5 separate regions of the Homo sapiens genome follow, and regions 1, 2, 3 and 4 are each linked to region 5. Evidence: promoter capture Hi-C in 16 types of primary human blood cells and fetal thymus (Javierre and others, 2016). All regions are on one chromosome and are shown on one strand. Each heading gives the region's core, a stretch centred on a gene start or on the middle of the fragment in contact. The rest is flanking DNA. Distances are from core to core; before and after follow the strand shown.

Region 1 (4,651 bases), core at 587-3,086, 370 kb after region 5:
AATAATTTAATGCTCACTGTGGCCCTGACTGAAAGTCAAGCTCAGGCACAATTAGGGCCATGGCTGGGCTCCCACCAATGAGGATACAGGCAGGCAAGGAGGTTGGATGTGGTGGTGTGGGATACAGGAGAAGGGCAAAGGGAGCTCATAAATAGGGCCCAGCCTGGCTCTGGGTTCAAAGGTGGAGGTTCCAGGATGGCACAGGCTGTGAGGGCTAGGCAGCTGAGGAGGTAGTACTCGTATTGGCTCCCTTCTCCCAGTCCTCTACAGACACGATGGTGGTTTTGCAGAAGAAGCAGTCCTTGTTGTTCATCAGGTGCTGGTTGATACAGGCTCTACAACAGGGGAGGGGATGAGGACTGCCCTGCATGTACCTACTGCTCTCCCCACCACCAAGCTGTGGGGCCCACTTACTTGCAGGACTTGTGGCCACAGGGCTGGAACACAGCAGAGATGGGGTGGGCATAGCAGATGGGGCAGAGGTCCTCCTCACTGGTGGGCTGCAGGGAGGAGAGTGAAGGGTGGGCTGGAGTTGGATGCCTGGCTATGTGGATGTCCGTTGTGCCTGTGTAGGAGTGCACACATATTCAAGTGGCATGGACCTGTGCACCGTGTTCCCACTCACCAGGGAGGCAGCTGCTGCCTGGGCAGATGCAGAGGTCAGGTGCGCCAGCATCTGTTCCACTTGGGCCAGCTCATCGGCACTGATATAATCCGCATCTGGGGAGTGGTAGGTAGTGTCAAGTCAGAGGTAGCTGAGGATGTGATGCCTCTTGAATATTCCCAGCCTAGGACTTTGCTGTTCTTAAGGCTCCTGACCCGACCCAGCCCCAGATTTCCCTGACCTGCCCCACCAGCCCACTCACAGCTCTGCAGGGAGAAGCGCTTCCGGTCAGGGGCTGGCAGAGCAGTGCCAGGTGCTGGGGGCTCTGGCTGTCCCAGGAGATAGCATATTGAGCGTAGCTGGAAGCAGGGATCTGCCAGGAGCACTGATGTGGCTTGCTCTCTCCTAGGTAGGGGAGGGTGCAAGGGCAGTCAGAAGGCTTGGGGCCTGGCTAAAAGTCTCTCTTGGGATTGCCAATGAGGAGTGCCATGGCTCGTACATGATCACCCCCCCTGCATCCTTTCCGTCTCCCTGCTTCCCAAACCCCAAGTCCTGTATTCTAGTAAGGTGCCACACAGCCTGTTTTTTTTTTTTTTTTCTTGAGACGAGTCTCGCTCTGTTGCCCAGGCTGGAGTGCGATGGCACGATCTCGGCTCACTGCAACCTCCACCTCCCGGGTTCAAGTGATTCTCCTGCTTTAGCCTCCCGAGTAGCTGGAATTGCAGACGCCCACCACCACGCCCGGCTAATTGTTGTATTTTTAGTAGAGACAGGGTTTCACCAGGTTGGCCAGGCTGGTCTCGAATTCCTGACCTCAGGTGATCCACCTGCCTTGGCTTCCCAAAGTGCTGGGATTACAGGCGTGAGCCACCGCGCCCGGCCTGGGGTACCACTTTAAGAAGGCTCAGGCGAACCACCTTAAGATAGTGAGAGTCTGCCTGCCCCATAATATTATCAGTCCTTCAAAGTCACTTCAAATAAACACTAACAGCAGCTTGGAGACATTCTTCCAGACTCCCCCTTTTACTCCCCGAGGAAAAACGAGCGGCGGAGAGCTGCCAGCCAAAGGCTGACGGGGACTTTGGGGTTGGCCTTGCTCCCCATCTGGCGGTCATGCGGGGCCATTGGGCACAAAGGGATGTAGCCGCCCCGCCTCCTCAAACGGGAACCAATAGGAGCCCGGGCCCCGCCCCTGGGGGGAGTATTTAGGAGCCGATCAGGAACTCGCTTGGAGAGGGCTAGCGAAGCCGAAGGGAGCGCGGCTAAGAGTGCCGCACCGCCTCACAACCTGGGAACCGGAGAGTAGGGGCCGTCGGCTGGCAAGAACCCGCCGTGCCTCCTCGGCAAGGGCCATCCGGTGCCACCCATGTCGCACTAGAGCAGAAGAGGGTGAGTCCTGGAACTGCAACCTGCACAGAGCTGCTCTGTACTGTCCCTGGTGGTCGCCGCCATGACCTGGTTGGTGCTGCTGGGGACACTGCTCTGCATGCTGCGCGTTGGGTTAGGCACCCCGGACTCCGAGGGTTTCCCGCCCCGTGCGCTCCACAACTGCCCCTACAAATGTATCTGCGCTGCCGACCTGCTAAGCTGCACTGGCCTAGGGCTGCAGGACGTGCCAGCCGAGTTACCTGCCGCTACTGCGGACCTCGACCTGAGCCACAACGCGCTCCAGCGCCTGCGCCCCGGCTGGTTGGCGCCCCTCTTCCAGCTGCGCGCCCTGCACCTAGACCACAACGAACTAGATGCGCTGGGTCGCGGCGTCTTCGTCAACGCCAGCGGCCTGAGGCTGCTCGATCTATCATCTAACACGTTGCGGGCGCTTGGCCGCCACGACCTCGACGGGCTGGGGGCGCTGGAGAAGCTGCTTCTGTTCAATAACCGCTTGGTGCACTTGGACGAGCATGCCTTCCACGGCCTGCGCGCGCTCAGCCATCTCTACCTGGGCTGCAACGAACTCGCCTCGTTCTCCTTCGACCACCTGCACGGTCTGAGCGCCACCCACCTGCTTACTCTGGACCTCTCCTCCAACCGGCTGGGACACATCTCCGTACCTGAGCTGGCCGCGCTGCCGGCCTTCCTCAAGAACGGCCTCTACTTGCACAACAACCCTTTGCCTTGCGACTGCCGCCTCTACCACCTGCTACAGCGCTGGCACCAGCGGGGCCTGAGCGCCGTGCGCGACTTTGCGCGCGAGTACGTATGCTTGGCCTTCAAGGTACCCGCGTCCCGCGTGCGCTTCTTCCAGCACAGCCGCGTCTTTGAGAACTGCTCGTCGGCCCCAGCTCTTGGCCTAGAGCGGCCGGAAGAGCACCTGTACGCGCTGGTGGGTCGGTCCCTGAGGCTTTACTGCAACACCAGCGTCCCGGCCATGCGCATTGCCTGGGTTTCGCCGCAGCAGGAGCTTCTCAGGGCGCCAGGATCCCGCGATGGCAGCATCGCGGTGCTGGCCGACGGCAGCTTGGCCATAGGCAACGTACAGGAGCAGCATGCGGGACTCTTCGTGTGCCTGGCCACTGGGCCCCGCCTGCACCACAACCAGACGCACGAGTACAACGTGAGCGTGCACTTTCCGCGCCCAGAGCCCGAGGCTTTCAACACAGGCTTCACCACACTGCTGGGCTGTGCCGTGGGCCTTGTGCTCGTGCTGCTCTACCTGTTCGCCCCACCCTGCCGCTGCTGCCGCCGTGCCTGCCGCTGCCGCCGCTGGCCCCAAACACCCAGCCCGCTCCAAGAGCTGAGCGCACAGTCCTCAGTACTCAGCACCACACCGCCAGACGCACCCAGCCGCAAGGCCAGCGTCCACAAGCACGTAGTCTTTCTGGAGCCAGGCCGGAGGGGCCTCAATGGCCGCGTGCAGCTGGCAGTAGCTGAGGAATTCGATCTCTACAACCCTGGAGGCCTGCAGCTGAAGGCTGGCTCTGAGTCCGCCAGCTCCATAGGCTCCGAGGGTCCCATGACAACCTAGACTGCCCAGGGCTCCCCCACCCAGGCCCCCACCCTCTTGCTGCTCGCCCTGCTCCCTGCTTCGGTCCAGAGAACTGGCAGATACTGGTGGGAAGCACTGTGCCTGGCCCCCCAGCTTCCTGTATGGGCCTCGAAACACAATGGGCCTTCTCGCTCACTGGTAGAGACAGGGGTTGTGGTCCCCAACCTGCCTTCTGCTCTGCCCCTGCACAGGACCCAAAGGCCCCAGGCCCTGCAAGGTGTGCTAGTTCCTGCTTTCCCGCGGACTTCCTAGTGCCCAAATGCCCTGTGAGGCTGAGAGACCCAGGCCCCTGTGGCTTTCAACACAGCACAGCTGTGGAAGTGGCTGTGTTCTTCTACAGCCTGTGGAAGAACCCCTGTAGCAGAGCCTCCCGTCCACCCTCAGGGGCTGAGACAGCTCTCGAGGAGTGGTGCTCAAGAGCTGACGCAGGGCCACCTCCCCTTCCCAAGGGGGTGGGAGGGAGTGGGCCCACAGGGAAAAGAAGGCGGCTCTGAAGGAAGATCTCGCCCACACCCCAGGACAGAAAGAGGAAACAAGCCCGCCCTCTGGTGAAATGGGACTCCCTCCATCCACCAACACCCAACCTCCTGAAAGCTTCACAACTTCACGCAGAGTCCGGTGGGCAGGCACCAGGCAGGAAAGGCTCCTCAAGAGGTTCCTGGTGGTCTGGCCTAAGCCCCAGCCAGAGGCCCTGCTCTCTCTGGCCTGGGGCATCCACCCGTTGTTCTGAAGGCAGAGCCCATTCTGTGGGCTCACAAGACACAGTGAAGGGGATCATGGCCTGCACCCCTGCTTTTCAGCAGTAAAAAGCCCGAAAAGCCTGGCGAGCATGGCCGAGCTGGGAGGGCCGAGCCGGAACTCCACGTCCCTCGAGAGCAGGAGCCTCTTAAGGGCTGGCACTGGTCTCAGCCTAATGGCTGAGGCGGTACCCTGGCTTCATATGCATCTCACTGCTCCCACTGCAGGGGGGCAGGGAAGGGGGGTCTGGGAGCCCTTCATGTGTGGGGGCCGAGCTGGGGGCCCCCATGGCCATCCTGGACCTCGCTGCTCCAGAGTTTAAT
Region 2 (5,254 bases), core at 1,895-4,394, 260 kb after region 5:
TTATTACTGGCTTATTTCACTTAGCATAATGTCTTCAAGGTTTATCCATGTAGCATGTATTAGAATTTTCTTCCTTTTTAGGGCTGAATCAGTAATCATATTTAATTTTTTTTTGAGACAGGGTCTTGCTCTGTTGCCCAGGCTGGAGTGCAGTGGCACGATCTCGGCTCACTGCAACCTCCACCCCCTGGGTTCAAGGGATCCTCCCACCTCAGCCTTCCAAGTAGCTGAGATTACAGGCATGTGCCACAATGCCCAGTTAATTTATTTAATTTTATTTTTTGTAGAGATAGAGTCTTAATATGTTGCCCAGGTCAGTATTGAACTCCTGGCCTCAAGCCATCCTCCCACCTCAGCCTCCCAAATTGTTGGTATTACAGGCGTGAGCTACTGTGCCTGGCAGTATTCATGTTTTAAATTTGCAAGCATTCTTTCTTGCTCTTTGAGTATGTCTGTTTTGCAAAGCATCATGTTCTTGTTTTATGGTCTCATATTTCTGTTTGTCTCAGAGTCAGTATTTGTGCACCATGGACTTTTTCCTGGGCTCCCCTCCCATACCTGGTGGTCCTTGGCTACTTTGGAGGCCAACCTATGTGGGTAGGGTTTGGGGGGGATGTGCAGACTGCTGGCATCATGTTGAGTCTTACCTGAACCCAGGATGCAGAAGGCTTTACTGTTGGGTCCAATAATATTGGCTGCCCTAGGTCATTGTACATAGTTTGTTTAGTGTCTTTGAGAAAAGCTCTTCTATTTATTGGCCCAGGGCAGCAGCCTAACTGCCTAGTGTTCTACCAATGCAGATTAGGATGGGGTGGAGCCAAGCTCACAATTTCATCAGTGTTCCAGTTTTCAGGCCTGTTTAATGCTTTTGCAAGGCCCTCCCTTTCCTTCATGGACCCCCTCCTTGTGGGTTCTGGCTGCTGTGTCAGTCTCTTGTCCCCTGGCCATGCTTTGTCTCCCAGAATTTTTTGGAAATCTCTGGGGGCTGATGGTGGTTGCCCCTTCTACTTGTTGCAGTAGGATTACCCTTCATACCTGTCATTTTAGGGAGGCATCAGCATGTAGCCACCACCCCCAACTACAGAGTCAATGTTAGGAAGATCTCTCTCATGGGCCCCAAGGGCCCCTGAACTCCAGGCTAGAGACAGCCAGGGAGACCTTTCCTTAGGGTAGGGTAAGGCCGCCAGGAGCCATGAGTTCATGGAGGAGATGTTGACTAATCCCATGCCACGCAGGCAATGGGCTGCTCAAGGCCTTAGCTCTGTTCTGGAAAGGGGAGCTTTGAGTGTCTTGCCTGGCTCCCTGAGGCCTCTGGCATGAAGCCCTGTAACTTGACCATGGGTGGGTGTCCCAAGGGTGATAGTGTCACTCAGGAGGGCCTCAAGCCAGCCTCAACCAGTGAGGGAAGGACTACTAAGCCCTAGGTTCTTTCTCCTTGTAGGACAAACAGAAAGTGGGAAGGAAAGAAAGTGGACCCCTGGCAGAAAGGGAAATAGGCTTCAAGCTCATGAAGGAAGAAGAATATAGAAACAGTCTAAGACAAGGCCGGGCGCGGTGGCTCATGCCTGTAATACCAGCACTTTGGGAGGCCGAGGTGGGCAGATCACGAGGTCAGGAGAGCGAGACCATCCTGGCTAACACGGTGTAACCCCATCTCTACTAAAAATACAAAAAATTAGCTGGGCGTGGTGGCGGGCGCCTGTAGCCCCAGCTACTCAGGAGGCTGAGGCAGGAGAATGGCTTGAACCCGGAAGGCGGAGCTTGCAGTGAGCCGAGATCGCACCACTGCACTCCAGCCTGGGTGACAGAGCAAGATTCCGTCTCAAAAAAAAAAAAAAGAAACAGTCTAAGAGAGGAAGAAATGTGTCCATATGATCCAGATGTGGATATGGGGAGTGAGGGAGGCACCGTGAGAACCTCCTGAGTCTTGAGTTTAGTGTTGTGGATGACCAGGAGGTGCAAGTGAATAAGCCTGGCTTGCCTTGAGCTTGGGCACCACTAGGCAACGCCTTAGGGGATGGCTGGGAGTAGAAAGTCCTGCCTTGAGCCACCTGGAGGGTAAAATTTACAGGACCCAGCGAGATCCTGCCTTCCTCTTGAGTTTACCTTTCCTAACCTGAGCCTCAACTTGCTGGGGTTGGTAAATGGTGGCAGAATATGGATACTGCAAAAAAGTTGGCATGAGTGGTCCTGGCTGCTGTGGTTCCCAGAGGAGGAAGCAAAGCAGCCAGCCTAGAGTTGGTTTGAGGTGGGTTTGTGCAGTCTTCATTTTAACTTGCAGGCGGGGACAGAGGTAGAGCTTCTAGGGTCCTGGACAGGGAAAGGAAGAAATAGTCCAGGCTGCCTGGATTGCTTAGCCACCCAAATCAATGCAGGTAGGCTTCCTCCCTCTGATGTGTACACCCCAGTGGAAGTGGGATTGTGGTGCAGCTCTGAAAAGTTCCTGAGGAAGGAAAGAGAGAAGGCATCTTTGGAGCTACCCTTGCCATTCCCCAGGGTTCTCCTTGTATGACAGGAGGTGGGGAGCCCTGCCAGGTCTGGGTGGGCTGGAAGAATCCTGTCGGCTGTAGTTTTAATAGAATAAAACTTCACTCCCCACCCCCCACCCCCCCCCCCCCCCCGTGTTATAAAAGTAAAAACACACTCATTGAGAATTTGGAAAATAGGGAGTTATCATAGAGGTACTTATGGTTGACATGTGGAATATTTCCTTCTCCTTTTTCTGCATGTGGGAGTGGTGGGGGGGTGCCAAATCATGTAATTGCACTATACATGGAGTTTTGTGTGCTTTTTAAATTAAATTAAATTTAAACTTTTTTTTTTTTTTTTCCTGAGACGGAGTCTTGCTCTGTCGCCCAGGCTGGAGTGCAGTGGCGCGATCTCGGCTCACCGCAAGCTCTGCCTCCCGAGTTCAAGCAATTCTCCTGCCTCAGCCTCCCGAGTAGCTGGGACTACAGACACAAGCCACCACACCCAGCTAATTTTTGTATTTTTAGTAGGATGGGGTTTCACCATGTTAGCCCGGGTGGTCTTGATCTCTTGACCGCTTGATCCACCCGCCTTGGCCTCCCAAAGTGCTGGGATTACAGGCGTGAGCCACTGTGCCTGGCCGAGAGTAGGGCTCTCTTGAGGGGTGGCCTTGAGTCAGGAGTGGGCTCCAGGTCCCTGGAGCTGAGTTATCTCTGATGCTTCAGGAGCTGTTGTCCTGGGTTACCACTGTGGCCCCAAGTAACCAGGTCATCTCTGCCTTCAGCCCAGCCCCTGTGGAGGTGAATCTGAAGCTCCGCCGGCCATCCTTCCGTGATGATATTGATCTCAATGCTACCTTTGATGTGGATACTCCCCCAGCCCGGCCCTCCAGCTCCCAGCATGGTTACTACGAAAAACTTTGCCTAGAGAAGTCACAGTGAGTGATAGTCGCTGGCACTGTCCATGGGCTGGTAGGGGGATAGCTAAGACAGCTCTGCAGGCCCTGTGCTGTTAGCTCTGAGTGGCTGATGGGGCAGTGAGGGTTGCCTAGGCTTGGCCATGGCTTTGGTTCCAGCTACCTCTTGTTCCCTCACCTGAGCACTCAATCTGTGCAAACCCCTTCTCTTTTCTCATTATTCCTCACCATCACCTTTCAAGGCAAACGTATTGGAATGCAAGTTAGAGAGAATGCAGTGATGCCAGAAGGGGTGGGTCTGGGCTGGAGAGGGTGCTCCCAATACCTTGAAGGCCTGCCCACCAGAGTCCTGAGCGAGGGACTCTGAACTTCCTCTTCTATGTTTGCCTCTGAGGCTCATGCCTGAGGGAGGATCATCTCAAACCACAGAGCCCAAGGCCTTACCACCCAAGGGGGTGACCCACAGGGGCAAGCATGAGAAGCTGTCTGGAATTCCAGTGGGGCAGGTGGAACCTGCTCTGGGGTACGGTGGGACCAGAAAAAGGGAGGCTGTCTCCTTGGCCAGCTTTGCCAAGTGTAATTCACTGTGGAGACAAGGACTATACTCATTCATACAGGTACTGTTCAGGTGAGGCTGGTCAAGGGCTGGGCAGGTTTCCTCTTTTTCAAAGACTTTGTACAGAGAGAAAGAAGAGAAAGAGAAAGAAACTGAGATGCTAGACAGTGGAGGTGGAAGGGAGCAAGAGGGCAAGCCAGCTGGGCTGTCCTACCTCCCAAACCTCAGGGGGCATGGGCACCCCTGTTGTAGAGGGCGAGGCCTGGTAGCAATGAGAAACAAACCTAGGACCCGTGGGCTGTAGTCCTCAGGGATCCTGTCAGTGTCTGCTGTGTACTCTGGCTTCCTCCCATTGCCCTTCTTCCGCTGTAAAGGTTGAAGGTGGACACCTGGGGTCTTCAGGCTGCCAGGCCTTTCAGAGACATTTCCACCACCTTCATGGCCTGTGGAGGTAGTGAAGGAGGTAGTGAAGTTCTGAGTCCCTAACTCAGCTCGTCCTTCCTGGAGCCTTGGTTGTCATGTAGCCTTACCACAGGCCGTTAGGGCAGGAGCAGAGGAGTCAGTCATCAGGCCCTGATCCCACTCTTGTCCTTATGGCTTGAGAAGCCACAGGGCCAGCCTTAGATCACCATCTTCTCACCCACCAGGGAAAATGCCAGGAGAGGGTATCCAGCTGCTGGGTTCCCCAGGAATTGGATGGAAATACAGTTTCTGGCTCTGGGGCTGGGATTGGGAGACCAGGGCCTGGGGCCATGCGCTATTCTGCCCCAGGCCCTTCTTAGACACACTCTCTAGGGAGATGGCTTGGCCCTGTGTTCTGAGAGGATTTTGTGGGCTACTTTACTGAAAGGCTAACTTACTGAGGCTCTCGTGGAGGTAGTGTCCCCTCTCTGGGAAGACAGGACTAGGCCTGAGCTCATTAAATTTCTTTTGCTCGTATCAGGGCATGACTGGCTTTCCTCCCGTGGGTGGTGAGTTGATTGGGCTCTTCAGCCCCATATAGAGCCTGGGACATGGTGAGGTGCCCGAGGACTTGAGGAGCGTTGGAATTTGGCCTTGAGTGGAAGCCACAGGATTGGGACATGGTCCAGTCATCCCCAGTCATCCCTGTCTCTGCCACCCTACTGGCTGTGGCTGTCCAGCTGTTAACAGACCTGCACTTGGGGTGGGATCACTGAGGTGCCTTGCCCAGAATGCAGGCATGGCAGCAGCAGTGCCACATGGTAACTCCCCAAGGGGCGTGTGCTGAGCCTGGTTCACCTGCCCCCATGTCTTGCTTACCTACCCCTTGCCTTCTCTCTCATTCTTGTAGC
Region 3 (4,675 bases), core at 2,169-4,668, 390 kb after region 5:
TCAGACTGAGGCAGCAGGAGCAGAAACCAGCCTCGCTGAGGCATGTGCTCCCATGCACGGTCTTGAACAGGCAGCCCTGCGGGCCCATGTGCACACAGGAATACACACACAACCAAACACGCACAACACCCGCCACCCAATGCGGGGTCCAAGAGTGCACGACCTTGCCCAGCTGCTGGTGTACGCTGAGGTTGTACATCATGACCGCCCCATCCAGGACTTCCAGCAGCGAGTTCTCGGTGAGGGGCTGCTCAGGCTCCTCGGGGGGCCGCCCCAGCAGCAAGCCCTCATTCCAGTGGCTGCCTTCAACTGGGGAGTTGGGGAGGGAAGGGTCAAGGGTAGGGCCATCCCGGCTCTCCTGAGCCTGCCTCACAGCAGGAGAGGAAATCATCTCTCCCATTCCTGTGCCCAAGGAGGGACCCGCGGGGAGCCCATGGGGGCATGGGGGTAGGGGTGGAGTGCAGGGCAAGGCCTGCGGTGCCAGGACCTATTTCTGCGGCATTGATCTCCTGCCCTCGGAGTGTGCTTCCTGCACTCCTGGGATGCTGCCAGGCCACAGGGCTGGGAGGGCATGGGGTGTATTTTGGCTTTGCCCGGATCGGGGACTGTACACTGTGGAAGGGTCCTTCGGGGACCTGCCTGACCCCACCAAGCACCTACTGTCCTCACGGGTCCTCTGCTCCACGCTCAGCGTGCGGACCTTCACTTTCTCCGAGGTGCTCAGAGGCCGCCGTGGGGTCATGAGGCTCACAGCCGCTGTGCTGAGGAAGCGGTTGGCTCGGCCCAAAGTTGGAGAACTGAGCCAGCCGGGCCGGGGCAGGGGCAGTGGCCCCCCAACAGCCAGGGCCTGCATGGGGCGCTGCAGTGAAGAAAGGCGGCCAGGACCAGGGCTGGCTCAGGGTTCCCTTGGCCCACGGGGCTGCAGAATTGTGAGGGAGGGTCCATGCCTCCACCCACAGCAAGGCACCAGCCCAGTGAGAAACCCTTTGCCTGCATGGAGCGGGAAGTGGCCCTGGATGAGACCCCTGCCCATAAGATACAGGATAAGCCCAACACAAATCCCACCGCCTGCCCCCACTGCGGCACCTGGGCCATAGCTGGGGCTGGCTCCTCATCCTCATCTAGGTCATCCATGGCGGTTGACTGGAGCTCCAGTGGGTCGATCACAATGTTGGCTTTGGAAGCAAGGTCATCTGGGAGGAAGAGCAGGAGGGTTCTCAGGCCAGTGGTGGCGCAAGGGGCCACAGTGGAAGTGCCCAGGACGGTGAGAGAGCCCAGCACACTGGGCAGGAGGCCTTGCAGAGCCCGGTTTAGCACCGTATCTGCCCCTCGCCCCTCCGCCTCCTCCACCCAGCCTTCACTCTGCATCTCAAGGGCCCCGTCTAGCTGCCACTCAGTAACAGGAGGCCTTCCCCATCACACCCTTCTTTTTCATTTATTTTCAAATTGACTTTCTTTATTCTACATAGATGTAAGCCCATCATGCCCTTCCTGCTGGTCCCTGGCTTTGTTTCCCAGGACTTCCTGCTCTCCAGGGCCTCCCCCACTCTCTGACTACTCCATAAACAAAAGGAGATGCCAGGGCTGCTTCATTCTGGGCACTCCCAGTGGGAGCCAAGCCTCATCCCAGGCTCATCCCCACCACCGTGCTGACAACTGACCCCGCCTTCGCTGCCCCCCGCCCAGGCCTTGCTCCCCGCTAAACGCGCTGTGTCCAAACAGAATTTCTCATCTCCACCACCTCCTGCAGCCCCTCTCCCTGATGGCACCCCATCCACACAACCTCTGGCAGGAAGCCTGGGGTCATCCTGACTCCTCTCCTCCACCTGTGCCCTCCCCTACCTACCTGGGCAGGCCCTTATCTCCTGTGTGGGGACACCTGGGCTCCCTGTCTCTCAGCCCCTGCACTCCGGCGTATACACTGCGGCAGCCAGAGAGAGGTTCTGACAGCACAGACCCACCCTTGTGCCCGGCTCAGGGCCTTGCTCTCGCTGTGCCCTCAGCCCTGCACCGGGGCAGCTTGTGCTCATCCCTGAAGGCAGCTCCGGCAGCACCTGCACGCCCCATCCACACCTCACCAAGATCCCTGGTCCCCTGCCAGGCACGCCCGACCCCTATGGCGTGGGTGCTGGCGGGAAAGAGAAGCTGCCCAGATGTAGGGCAGGCAGATCAGTGTCTCCCTGCCTGAGTGGGTGGAAAGACTTGGGCACCCTCTGGTGGCCATAGGATGGCTCAGCATCCACAGCAGAGCAGGCTCAGGGACAGTCCCCCACCTGGCCCCAGAACTGCTCCCGGCCCACAGGCCTGTACACACCTTTGAGGGTCTTCCGCAGGTGCGAGAGGAGGCCCCCCAGGCGCTGCAGGTCAAAGTAGTCCACCTTGCCATTATAGAAGACCTGGGGCGGGATGTAGGCCTCTGCGAGGAATTGAGGAGGCTAGGCCAGTGGTCACGGCCCAGTAGGAAGACCCTCCCCACAGCCCTCCCCTCCAATCTGGCCTAGCACAGCCTGGGAATTCTGGCTTTGGCCACTCACCCATCCAGGCAGACAGAGAAACTGTCTCCTGGACCAAGAAACAGACCTCCCCTACCTCTTCTCCACCCCTGCCATTTCAGGTCAGAGCCAGCAGCTGCATAACTTGGGGTGATGGGGGTACTCATGGCAGCCGTTCACTCAGGAGAAGCAGAGAGGCCCAGCCCCAGTCCTGTGGGATATCCCCCAATCCAGGGCAGGTAAGGCTCCCACTGACCCTTGGGGACTCAAACACAGGGCCCCCCAGCACCCACCCAAGGCAGCCCTATAAAGGACGCACAGAGAAATGGGGGGGCAAGGACGGAAGAAAAGAGCCCACAATGGTAGGAGCCCGTGGGACAATCAGAGCAAACACAGGATCGGCAGGCCTGCGGTGCAGGGCTCCTGCTGCCCCAGTGGAGAAGCCGCCTGTGGCTGGGTAGGACTCAACCAGGCAGGATGCCGGGGACAACTCCCCACAGCCCACAGCCTCAGCTCAGCACTCTGCACTAACATTAGGGGCTGCCCTACGCCTGGCTCTGTCCAGCCTCACTGACCTGGGACCCCGGTGCCACTCACCCTCACTGAAGGAAGCATGAGGATTGGAAGCCTTGTATTCATCCCAATAGTAGCGCAGGGCAGAGATCAGCCGGTGTAAGAAGCAGACCATGTACTCAGGGGGGCAGAGCATGGGCATGTTCTGTGGACACCAGGCATGAAACATGCATTGGTGCCAGTCCAGTGCCTTGCCCATTCCTCATCCAAGGCCCTGCCTGAGGGTCGAGGGTTAAGCAGGGAGGGAAAAGCAGCAGAGAAAAGCTTGGGGCTAGGCAGGGATGAGGCAGTCCGAGAAGTGCCAGGTGCTGAGGGCATGGCATGTGTAGTGCAGCCGGGGATCCACAGTGGGCTGGCCTGGAGGACACCTACCCCCCGGCCACTGGCGTTCTCCTGCAGAAACTTGCGAAACTTGGTCAGGAAGATATACCTAGAAGCTTCACCCTTTGAGAGAGGGAAAAGTGAGGCTGTGCTGAGCTGAGAATGCAGGCCCAGACTGGGCTGGCTCAGTGCTGCACCTTCCCCCAGCCCCTGCCATGGGAACCAAACCCAGTTCCCACCCTCTGGGTCTTAAGGCCCAGTGCAGCATCCCTCCCCACAGGGCCCCACCCAGGGCTCCTGGGAGTCACTCACCCCATTGTCATCTTTATTGTCCAGCAGCAGCTTCAGGATCTGGACCTGTAGTTCTTCCACCACTGGAGGTCAGGTGAGGAACATGGCCCTCAGGCTCCAGGAGATGGGGGGCAGGTTTGGGCCAGGGCTCCACCACCAGGGTTCCCCAAGTCCCACCTAGACATGGGCACCTCCAAGCACCCTCATGTGCACACACACACCTCCCACCCTACCCCGTGCCCAAGGCGGGCTGACCTTCGATGCGCTTCCTGAGCCGCTGACAGCCCCGTTCGTAGGCTCGCCGCCGCAGCCGCTCCTCTGCGGTCTCCTCCTTCATCTCCGTGCTCTCTTTGCCCTAGGCAGGGGTAGCAGGTGGAATACAGCAGGGTCACCTGGGACCTAGCCAGGCCTCCTTCACTCAGAACACCCACACTCCATCTCCAGGGCTTCAGGGACCAGGGCCAGTGAAAAGGCCTCATGCTAGATGCCCAGTGGCCAGATGCCCAGGCCAGGGGCCTTGCCATGACCTCTGCCCATCCCACTTGGGGTGCACTCACCTCCCTACTGGAGCAGTGGGGCCACCAGGTGGTGGGAATGAGCTCCTGCAGGCCGGCCTCCTCCACACGCAGGGGGCTCTTGATGTAAAAGAAGACGACGGAGCGGAGCACGTCGAAGCTGGCGGGTGTCAAGGCAGGGCTCTGCTTGCCAAAGGGCACTCTGCACACCCTCAAGAGTCCTTCCCCAGGAGCCCATCCCTGGATGTGCCTACCACAGCTCTCCCACCACCACAGGGGCATGTTGCTGCTATGTGTCTGACCCCCAGGGCATGCTCCCTGACAAAAAGCTGTGGTGGTTAAGCCCACCAGCTCCAGTACCCAGCAGGTGCACGATAAGGGCTTGTCACAGGAACAGATGACTGTGGGACAAGCTGGAGAGAGGGACTGGTGGCCTTTTCTCAGGCCCCAACTCTGACCTCTGTGTCTCCCAGCTTTGTGTCT
Region 4 (4,857 bases), core at 262-2,761, 350 kb after region 5:
ATTAACCTCAGGGATTTTACTTATGCTTGGAATGTTCTTTCCAGTACCCTTATCCACACCTGCTCCTCCAACCTTTAGTTTATTAGGTCTCCCCAGACACTTCTTCCCTGATCATCCTATATTATATTCTGCTCTGGAAACCATATTTTCAGTGATAGAACCTTACTTAGTTTCTTCATAGCACTTATCACAATCTGTATTTTTGTCTATGTGTTTGTTTTTCACATTAGTATGGAAGCTCCTTGAAGGTATGGACTTTTTTTTTTGTCTTTTACACTTATGAGTTCAGGGCCTGGCATCTAGTAGATGGTCAGTAAATACTTGATAAATGAATGAGGCAAAGCTTATTTGCATAAATGTACAGAAGCCTTGAACTTCACATTTAGTACTGCAAGCACTAACAGTTGATGATTGTAGCTGGTCATACTAAATAAATGAAAATTTGTTTTTAAACCTGCCAAGATATGAAATATTATTGACACTTTTTCTTAGCTTAATTGAGCTTAAACACCTGTGCTGATAGCAGCAATTAGATGTGTGTATGTGTGTGGGCTAGTAATCATACATGTATTTCTTAGCTCCATGTGCTGAAAGGGCCTAAAAGCAGTGATACTTCAGTAGCAATCAGTATATCTAGTAACCAAATCCTGAGTTTTCTAAATACCATTCTTACAATAAAAAGAAACAGAGCTCCTTGGTGAAATGGTTGGTTCCTGAGTTCGGGCAGGAAAATTATAAGACAAGCCTAGAACATCTTATGGTGACAGATAGTAAAGAAGTGGTCAAAAATCATGTCAGAAGTACGAAGAGCTAACTTTAAAGGAATTGAAGGGCCCAATCTAGAAGAATTTAAATGACAAAATATCCACAAGTCTATACTGATAAATACATGGATATGAAGGGACAACTCTTCCTTATAGAATTCTAATTTCTTTTTTTTTTTTTTTTTTTTTTTTTTTGAGACGGAGTCTCGCTCTGTTGTCCAGGTTGGAGTGCAGTGGCGCAGTCTCGCCTCACTGCAAGCTCTGCCCCCCGGGTTCACGCCATTCTTCTGCCTCAGCCTCCCGAGTAGCTGGGACTACAGGCTCCCGCCACCAAGCCTGGCTAATCTTTTGTATTTTTAGTAGAGACAGGGTTTCACCATGTTAGCCAGGATGGTCTCAATCTCCTGACCTTGTGATCCACCTGCCTCGGCCTCCCAAAGTGCTGGGATTACAGGAGTGAGCCACCGTGCCCGGCCAGAATTCTGATTTATTTTGATTAATAAATATAGAAGGAATGATGGGAATAGAAGTCACCATTAGGCAGACAACACAGTAATACCATTCAGCACACACCATTAGGCATTACACACACCATTAGACATTACAACACAGTAATAATTGTGGCGCATTGTGCAGTGGTGCAATCATACCTCACTGCAGCCTCGAAACCATGGCTCCGCCGGGCATGGTGGCTCATGCCTATAATCCTAGCACTTTGGGAGGCCGAGGCAGGCGGATCACCTGAGGTCAGGAGTTCGAGACCAGCCTCGCCAACATGGTGAAACCCTGTCTCTACTAAAAATACAAAACTTAGTTGGGTGTGCTGGCAGGTGCCTATAATCCCAGTTACTTGGGAGGCTGAGGCAGAAGAATCACTTGAACCCGGGAGGCAGAGGTTGCAGTGAGCAGAGACCACGCCATTGCATTCCAGCCTGGGCAACAAGAGTGAAACTCTTGTCTCAAAAAAAAAAAAAAAACAAAAAAAAAAAACTATGGCTCAAGTGATCCTCCCACCTCAGCCCCCCGAGTAGCTGGGACTATAGGCACGCCACTACAACTAGGTAATTTTTAAAGTTTTTTGTAGAGACAGGGTCTTGCTCTGTTACCCAGGCTAGTTTTGAACTCCTAGCCTCAAGGAATCCTCCCACCTTGGCCTCTCATAGTGCTGAGATTTAAGAGATCGGACCTCACTATGTTGCCTGGGCTAGTCTTGAACTCCTGGTCTCAAGTGATCCTCCTCCATGAGGCATGATACCTCAGCCTCCCAAGTAGCTGGGATCACAGGTGTGAGCCACTGCTCCCAGCTGAAAGGTAAGTGTGTGTGTGTGTGTGTGTGTGTGTGTGTGTGTGTGTGTATTTTGTTTTTGTTTTTGTTTTGAGATAGGGTCTTGCTTCATTGCCTAGGCTAGAGTGCAGTGGTATGAACTTGGCTCACTGCAACCTCTACCTCCTGGGTTCAAGGACCTCAGCCTCCTGAGTAGCTGGGACTTACAGGTGCCTGCCACCATTCCTGGCTAATTTTTGTATTTTTAGTAGAGATGGGGTTTCACCATGTTGGTCAGGTTGGTCTCGAACTCCTGACCTTAAGTGACCCACTTGCCTTGGCCTCCCAAAGTGCCTGGATACAGGTATGAGCCACCGTGGCTGGACTGTGTGTTTTTTTAATATAAAATTTTAGTCCAATTTATTTATTTATATACTATTTTGAGACAGGGTCTCACTCTGTTGCCCAGACTGGAATGCAGTGGCACGATCTCAACTCACCACAGCCTTGACCTCCTGGGCTCAAGTGATTCTCCCACCTCAGCCTCTGGAGTAGCTGGGACCACAGGTGTGCACCGGCTCTTTTTTTTTGTATTTTGTAGAGACAGGGTCTCACCATGTTGCCCAGGCGGGTCTCAAACTTCTAAGCTTAAGTGATCTGCCTGCCTTGGCCTCCCAATGTGCTGGGATTACAGATGTGAGCCACCATGCCTGGCCCTGAAATAGATTAATTTGACTAATAATATCTTCCACTATGCTTCTATTTTTTTTTCTTTTTCTTTTTTGAGATGGAGTCTCACTCTGTTGCCCAGGCTGGAGTGCAGTGGCGCGATCTTGGCTCACTGCAAGCTCTGCCTCCCGGGCTCACGCCATTCTCCTGCCTCAGCCTCCCGAGTAGTTGGGACTACAGGCGTGTACCACCACGCCCGGCTAATTTTTTGTATTTTTAGTAGAGACAGGGTTTCACCGTGTTAGCCAGGATGGTCTCAATCTCCTGACCTCGTGATCCGCCCCCCTCAGCCTCCCAAAGTGCTGGGATTACAGGCGTAAGCCACCGTGCCCAGCCTATGCTTCTATTTTCTTTGACTAAATTGGGCTTCATTTGACTTAGAAAGAAGGGATTAATTTTAGTTTAATTGAATTGTACTTTTGAGCTAGCATATTTATTCTTTCCTAGTGAAAATGTAGCCTAAGCAAAGAAAATAAAGTAGATCCTAAGAATTTACTGTGGCTTTTATTTTTTTATTTTTATTTTGAGACAGGGTCTTGCTGTGTCGCCCAGGCTGGAGTGCAGTGGTACAGTCATGGCTCACTGCAGACTCAAACTCCTGACCTCAAGCAATCCTCTCATATTATGGCCTTTAAAGATACCTGTTACTCAGTTTGAGAGGAGGAAGGTGTGAGGAAATACTGAACCAGTGCTAGAGACTGCCAACCCTTCCCTGGGAGGCACCTTGAAGTTCTAAATTGTCTTGTCCCAGTTCTGATGGTTGTAATTTAGAGAACACCTATCTGGAAGCAGGGCTCATTTACCTTTTAAGGGATTTTTTCCTTAGCATCAGAAGGACTCCATGAGCTGACAGGGCCTATAGTTTTATTTCTGGCTTTGGCATATTTATGGCAGAATGTTTGGCCTTCAGTGTTTTGAATGTGGATGGATAGGTGGCTGAAGCTACATTTATAAAGTGTTTGGGACTGTTAAAGTTTCCTAGCCACTTGGAGAAAGCAGTGTGTTTATTTCTGGCTTTGTTCTTATTTAGCAGCCTTAGAATATTTATTTTTCCAAATTTAGTATTCTTCTGATTATGTTTTGAAAGCAATAAAAATCACCCAGTTTCAAAACTGCACAAAGGGCTTGAATAGAGATTTTTCCAGAGAGGACATACAGATGGCCAGTAGCACATCAACATGATTAGTCATTAAGAAATGCAAATCAAAACCAAAATAAGATACCACTTCATACCAGGTATCTTATTTTACCTAGTATGGCTATAATAGTTTAAAGAAAAAAGGGAAATAACTGTTGGCAAGGATGTGGAGAAATGGGAACATTGCTGATGAAAATGTAAAGTGGTGTAGCCACTGTGGAAAAGAGTTTGGCAGTTCCTCCCAAAGGTGAACACAGAAACCATATGATCCAGCAATTCCACTCCTACATATATATCCAAAACAATTGAAAACAGGGACTGTGGCCAGGTGCAGTGGCTCATGCCTGTAATCCTAGTACTTTGGGAGGCGGGCAGATCACCTGAGGTCAGTAGTTCAAGACCAGCCTGGCTAACATGGCAAAACCCTGTCTCTGCTAAAAAATACAAAAAGTAGCCGAGCGTGGTGGCAGGCACCTGTAATCCCCGCTCCTCAGGAGGCTGAGGCAGGAGAATCACCTCGGGAGGCGGAGATTGCAGTGAGCTGAGGTTGCACCACTGCACTCCAGCCTGGGCGACAGAGCAAGATTCCATCTCAAAAAAAAAAAAAAAGAAAAAAGAAAAAACAGGGATTCAAATGGATTGTTGTAAGCCAGTGTTCACAACAGCATCATTCATAATAGCTAAAAGGTGGAAACAACCCAAGTGTCCATCAATATAGATAATACATAACAGATGTGATATATACTTACAATGGAATACTATTGAGCCATAAAAAAGAATGAAGTTCTGATATATGCTGTGACACAGATGAACCTTGCAAACACTATGCTAAGTGAACTAAGCCAGACACAAAAGAACAAACATTGTATGATTTCACTTATATGAAATATGCATAATAGGCAAATCTGTAGAGATAGAAAGTAGATTTGGTTACTGGGGCTAGGAGGAAGGGAAAATGGGGA
Region 5 (5,327 bases), core at 2,271-4,770:
CAGGCGCCCACCACCCCACTCAGCTAATTTTTGTATTTTTAGTAGAGACGGGTTTTACTATGTTGGCCAGACTGGTCTTAAACTCCTGACCTCAAGTGATCTGGCCGCCTTGGCCTCCCAAAGTGATAGGATTATGGGAAGGGGCCACTGGACCTGGCTGCCTGGCTGTTATTTCTATTACTATAAGGCTCAGAGTGTTTTGGGGGGTTATACAGCCGCTGGTCACTCACCTCTGGACTGTCATAGTCTCGGTAGTCATCATATCTATCACCCCTCCGATCATCACTAGATCTTTTGTAATCTGAGTCCCTCCGCCTGCTTCGGGATTCACGCTCATCACGGTCATCCCTGTCTATGATGGAACCGTATCTTCCACTACGCTCTGTTCTACTCACTCTGCCAGGGAAAATAATTTTCATTCTAAAGTCAGTCACATTTTGTACCTTTAAAAGACATAGTTAAAAATACACACGGCCCACAGATCAGTTTATAAGATAATCCAAATAGTTTAAAGTGTTAAAAAGTATTACCAAATTCCAGTTTACTAAGATAACCACTGGGAAAATACCTACATCCCTAAATGTAATGATAATTCTCAGGAATGTATGCTAAATCTGAAATAAACATTTGGGTTGAATATTTCTAAGAAAGAGTCATGTTGTCCAAGTTTATTTTTGCATTTTGTCAAGCCTAGAGTCTACATATTATCCCTTCATCCCTGATTCAGATCTTAGTGACCAAAAACAGGAAGAAAGCAGTTACTCGAATTTCACCCAATTTTAAAGGGTGAAATTAAGTACATCCCTGGCTCATCTACTCTCAAGGGTATCATGCCTACTGGAAAATGGACCAAAAACCTGGATGAACTAAGTTAGTCTTTTTTTTCCCCATCAGGCAACTTAGTTGTCTGTCAGATACAACTGGATAGTTACCCAAAACTAGCACCCCTTAAGAGAACACTCTTCTTATAACATCTGGTTTATTTTTGGCTAAAGGGCAGCACTGGGCTTCATGGGAAAACCTAATAACAAGAGGCTTAAACCTATTTGACCACAGATAAAATACACCTTTTGTAAACTGTTTACCAGATTCATAAAACTGCTGTGCAATCATAAGGCAAAGGAAAGGTTTATAAGGGCTTCATTTAGAATATACAAATTTAATAAAAAGAATCAAAGGAAATATGGGACTGAGACACCCCAAAGGGGTAAATGTTAATTTAGTAAGCTATTTAGAACCACAGACTGCTGACACAGCATTAAAATACCATGTGACATGAACATCTCCTAAGGTCCCTCAGCCTGTCAATGTGATCTACCACAGGGACTGACCTCAATACTAAAAAGGCAGATGGCTGAATAAGGGTGTGTGTTTAAATCAAATGGTCTGAGAGCATGTACCCATAGGTGACACAATAGCCAAATGCTCTCATCTTAATTTTCCACTAATTCTTTGGCTCTTTCTTTCTTCATGTAACACACAGTCCCAAGCTTCTCAGCTCTCTAAGTCTGGATCATCTTGCTATTCAGGGAACAATAACAAGAAATGGCATTCATTGATTGCTTACCACAGCCAGGAACTGTGCTAAGTGCCAGACTGTATGATCTCCTGGATTCTGCAAAGGTTGCTGTCCACACAGGGAACCTTCAGTGACCCACTCTACCCTGCCCTTCTTTGCCTAAAATTCTTTCTTATCCTTCAGCTTCCTTCCAGAGAATATTTTCTCCAGGAAGCTTTCCTGGCTGTGAACAAGAAAAAGACATACTTCCTATGTGTTCTAAGAGCACCCTACACTTTATCACAGCATGTTCACACAGTACTTTAATTCTCTCACTAGACTGTAGTTTGTGACAACAGGATCATAAAGGTGTTCGTTAGCAATGCCTGGCGCAAAACACTCATATATTAGTTTGATAAACTATTTTAAACAAGGAGTTCAGTCCCCACTGAAATGTTGAGATCAAAGCCACGTACTGTAGTAACTTACCTTTTGTCTGAACCCATTGTCCCACTGAAGATTTAGCACACAGCTCCAAAAGGTTCAAATTTTATTTTTTCTAGGAGACAAGAGAGATTAATTGCTATAAATCTCAGAGATCACTTAAGTCAGCAGCTCCATAGCTTGGATACTACTGAGGCTGGGATTTCATCAAACCTTCAAATCATTGACAGTGATTATCTAAGGTGGGGAAGTGGTGGGGACAAACTGTCAACGTTAAAATCGTGCTAACATTTTGTTAACAATGAGCAAAACCGGAAGATTAAGCATATTTTAAAATATTAGATTCCAGATTTAACAGAATCATAATACGGAGCAAGCAGAAGACTCCTTCCCTGCTCCTACCTTAGAATTACAAAGCAAAAAGGGCAGAGCTACAATCAGCTCCTTGGTTTTGTATCAAAGCAACTCCGTGGGATAGTTGACCGTTAAAACATTAATCCAAGTGTCTTCATTAATACAAGGAGCAACATGAAATTCAAACACTTCTGATGAAAAATGTAAAACCTCGTAGAAGCTGGGATACTGAGCTGACTGAAATCTACTACATTAATAACGTATCGCATAAGACAAGAGCAAAGCTAGAAACGACCTAATTCCTAGGTAACAATAACCACCACGTCTTGAGCCAGTTCTTATGACTACAAACCACTGAGTAGTGAACAGCCCGGCCCCCCGCCCCCCGTTGGTAATAAGACATCACACTGCTGGACCGCGTTCGATGAGCGCGAGGTCCGAAAAATCAGTTCCAGTAGTCTCTGGAAGCCTAGTCTAGAGCGAATGCTCAACGATTTGTTGAAATTAATAAATGAAAAAGAACCACTGGGGGGAAACAAGTCCCGGGGCATATTCACTGGTGCCGCCCCTTGTCTCCCGGGCGGTGCCGGCACCCACCTCCGTGGGGTCTCGCGGCCGAGATGGCGGCGTCACGGCCTGCTCGACCGACTCCAGCGTCCGGCCTGCCCTCCCCGCACATGCCCCTCCCGCCTCCCAAGAGGTTCCAAACCCGCAGATGGGCGATCACCGAACAGCTTTTCGGAGAGGGCGATTCAGTTGCAGTTGAGCGGGGGATGGCGGCCAGAGACTGCCAGGGAGCTCCCAAGGAGTGCCCGAGGGACAGGCGACGGCTCCACTGCTCCGTTGGGCTGAAGATTAGGGGACGTGTATCCACAAGGGGCAAAGTCACAGCCAGAAAGAAGCAGGCCCAAGGCTGAGCTGGCTGGACACCCTCTGGAAACTGACAGAGCTGGCAACAAGGAAGGGCGCGGCCCTCCAACGCCTGGGGTAATTTAGCCCCTCTACAGAACCGGCTGGAGCTGATCAGTCGCCTCCGGCAGCTGACAAGGGAGGCTTGGGGGCCAGCCCAAATGGCAAGAACCTACCGTCGTTACAGACAGCCGCCGCACTTACCCCAAGGAGAGACCGAAGCAGCAGTAGCGGTTCTGCGCCCCAGAACCTCCAACAAGGTTCGGCGGCTACACAAAATGGCGCCTCCGCCGACGGCCGTCTCCTACCCACAGTACCTCACGCTTATCCCCTCCCCCTGTCACCCGCCTCCTGCGGAGAAGTCCAATCCTCGAAGCGGCCTGGCTGTGCGAGGGCTGCCGGGAAATGTGGTCGCCAGACCATCCTGTCACTTAGGACGCTCTGTGTTAATGTCTTGCAATTCTCTTCTAAATCACTACAGAGTTGTCGATCGGCTTTTGCAGACCTGGATTAGTTTTTAGGGCTCCTATTAGGCATGTTAATAATTCTTTGCTTTTGCTACTAGCGCCGTAGAGAGTACAGTTTGCTTTCACTGGCACGGTGTAAAACATTGTCTAATTCTACTTCAAAAGGAGACCGTGCGTGAAGTGGTGGCTCACTCACAAGCCAGCATTTTGGGAGGCCGAGGCAGGAGGATCGCTTGAGGCCAGGAGTTCGAGACCAGCCTGGGAAACACAGTGAGATCCTATCTCTACAAAAAATAAAATTAACTGAGCATGGTGGCGTGCACCTCTTGTCCCAGCTACTCAGGAGCTGAGGTGAGAGGTTCGCTTGGGCCCAAGAGGTCGAGGCTGCAGTGAGCTGTGATCTCGTCACAGCACTCCAGCCTGGGGACAATGCGAGAAACTGTCGCTAAAAAATAAAAAGGAGGCCGGTGCTGGGCGCGGTGGCTCACTCCTGTAATCCCAGCACTTTGGGAGGCCAAGGCGGGCGGATCACAAGGTCAGGAGATCGAGACCATCCTGGCTAACACGGTGAAATCCCGTCTCTACTAAAAATACAAAAAAATTAGCTGGGCATGGTGGCGGGCGCCTGTAGTCCCAGCTACTTGGGCGGCTGAGGCAGGAGAATGGTGTGAACCCGGGAGGCGGAGCTTGCAGTGAGCCGAGATTGCGCCACTGCACTCCAGCCTGGGCAACAGAGTGAGACTCTGTTTCAAAAAAAAAAAAAAAAAAGGCTGGACGCAGTGGCTCACGCCTGTAATCCCAGCACTTTGGGAGGCCGAGGCAAGTGGATCACGAGGTCAGGAGCTCAAGACCAGCCTGACCAATATGGTGAAACCGCGTCTCTACTAAAAATACAAAAATTAGCCGGGCATGGTGGCATGCACCTGTAGTTCCAGCTACTAGGGAGGCTGAGGCAGGAGAATCACTTGAACCAGGGAGGCAGAGGTTGCAGTGAGCTGAGATCGTGCCACTGCACTCCAGCCTGGGTGACAGAGCAAGACTCAGTCTCAAAATAATAATAATAATAATAATAATAATAATAATAATAATAATAATAAATAAATAAATAAAAAGGAGGGGCCAGGCATGATGGCTCATGCCTGTAATCCAAGCACTGTGGGAGGCCGAGGCAGGTGGATCAGCTGAGCTCAGGAGTTCGAGACCAGCCTGGCCAACATGGCTAAACCCCGTCTCTACTAAAAATACAAAAATTAGCTGGGTGTGGTGGCGCACACCTATAATCCCAGCTACTTGGGAGGCTGAGGTAGGAGAATCGCTTGAACCCAAGAGGCGGAGGTTGCAGTGAGCCGAGATTGCTCTACCGCACTCCAGCTTGTGCAACACAGCAAGACTCTATCTCAAAAAAAAATAAAAATAAAAAATAAATTAAAATGAGGAACATTAGTTGATCGCTTTACTAGATGCTATATTATTGCCCTAGATGCTTTGCAAACATTTTTGTTTGTTTGTTTGTTTGAGATGGAGTTTTGCTCCTGTTGCCCAGGCTGGAGTGCAATGGCACAGTTTCAACTCACTGCAAACTCTGCCTCCCAGGTTCAAGTGATTCTCCTGCCTCAGCCTCCCAAACAGCTGGGATTACAGGCACCCGCCACCAC

What was found. Contacts are between HindIII fragments. The CHiCAGO score rates a contact against its expected background, and 5 or more counts as called.
Region 1: the fragment with the promoter of AMIGO3 here is called in contact with the fragment with the promoter of RBM5 in region 5 in 1 of 17 cell types (endothelial precursors); the score reaches 5.3 in endothelial precursors.
Region 2: a fragment that was not itself captured here is called in contact with the fragment with the promoter of RBM5 in region 5 in 1 of 17 cell types (endothelial precursors); the score reaches 6.8 in endothelial precursors.
Region 3: a contact is called between a fragment that was not itself captured here and the fragment with the promoter of RBM5 in region 5, in 3 of 17 cell types (endothelial precursors, megakaryocytes and naive B cells). The highest score is 15.5, in endothelial precursors.
Region 4: a fragment that was not itself captured here is called in contact with the fragment with the promoter of RBM5 in region 5 in 1 of 17 cell types (endothelial precursors); the score reaches 7.4 in endothelial precursors.

The regions. Positions count from the first base shown.
Region 1 is chr3:49,716,869-49,721,519 of GRCh38, reverse strand. It overlaps AMIGO3 (adhesion molecule with Ig like domain 3), which reads left to right and starts at 1,836. Exons shown (of 1, transcript NM_198722.3): 1 at 1,836-4,651. The coding sequence starts at 2,055. The coding sequence ends at 3,569. RNF123 (ring finger protein 123) reads right to left here. Exons shown (of 39, transcript NM_022064.5): 36 at 867-1,009; 37 at 626-720; 38 at 415-500; 39 at 1-335. The coding sequence ends at 215. GMPPB (GDP-mannose pyrophosphorylase B) reads left to right here. Exons shown (of 9, transcript NM_021971.4): 9 at 1-1,604. RefSeq lists a silencer at 300-477 and enhancers at 1,472-1,701, 2,472-2,581, 2,063-2,870, 3,916-4,416. The HindIII fragment of the contact is 8,800 bases long and covers 1-4,186 here.
Region 2 is chr3:49,830,068-49,835,321 of GRCh38, reverse strand. It overlaps TRAIP (TRAF interacting protein), which reads left to right. Exons shown (of 15, transcript NM_005879.3): 11 at 3,254-3,406; 12 at 5,254. Among named protein-coding and RNA genes, the nearest start is that of UBA7, 19 kb to the right of the region's middle. The HindIII fragment of the contact is 6,901 bases long and covers 1-5,254 here.
Region 3 is chr3:49,701,168-49,705,842 of GRCh38, reverse strand. RNF123 (ring finger protein 123) reads right to left here. Exons shown (of 39, transcript NM_022064.5): 16 at 4,235-4,352; 17 at 3,933-4,032; 18 at 3,699-3,760; 19 at 3,438-3,509; 20 at 3,090-3,210; 21 at 2,315-2,416; 22 at 1,087-1,193; 23 at 661-859; 24 at 164-309. Among named protein-coding and RNA genes, the nearest start is that of RNF123, 14 kb to the right of the region's middle. RefSeq lists a silencer at 1,993-2,287. The HindIII fragment of the contact is 173 bases long and covers 3,332-3,504 here.
Region 4 is chr3:49,740,504-49,745,360 of GRCh38, reverse strand. The region is part of intron 2 of IP6K1 (inositol hexakisphosphate kinase 1); the gene reads left to right. Among named protein-coding and RNA genes, the nearest start is that of GMPPB, 19 kb to the right of the region's middle. The HindIII fragment of the contact is 2,332 bases long and covers 346-2,677 here.
Region 5 is chr3:50,087,112-50,092,438 of GRCh38, reverse strand. RBM5 (RNA binding motif protein 5) reads right to left here and starts at 3,520. Exons shown (of 25, transcript NM_005778.4): 1 at 3,410-3,520; 2 at 1,988-2,057; 3 at 231-396. The coding sequence starts at 2,004. RefSeq lists enhancers at 2,481-3,071, 3,233-3,342, 3,383-3,552, 3,072-3,663. The HindIII fragment of the contact is 11,751 bases long and covers 1,736-5,327 here.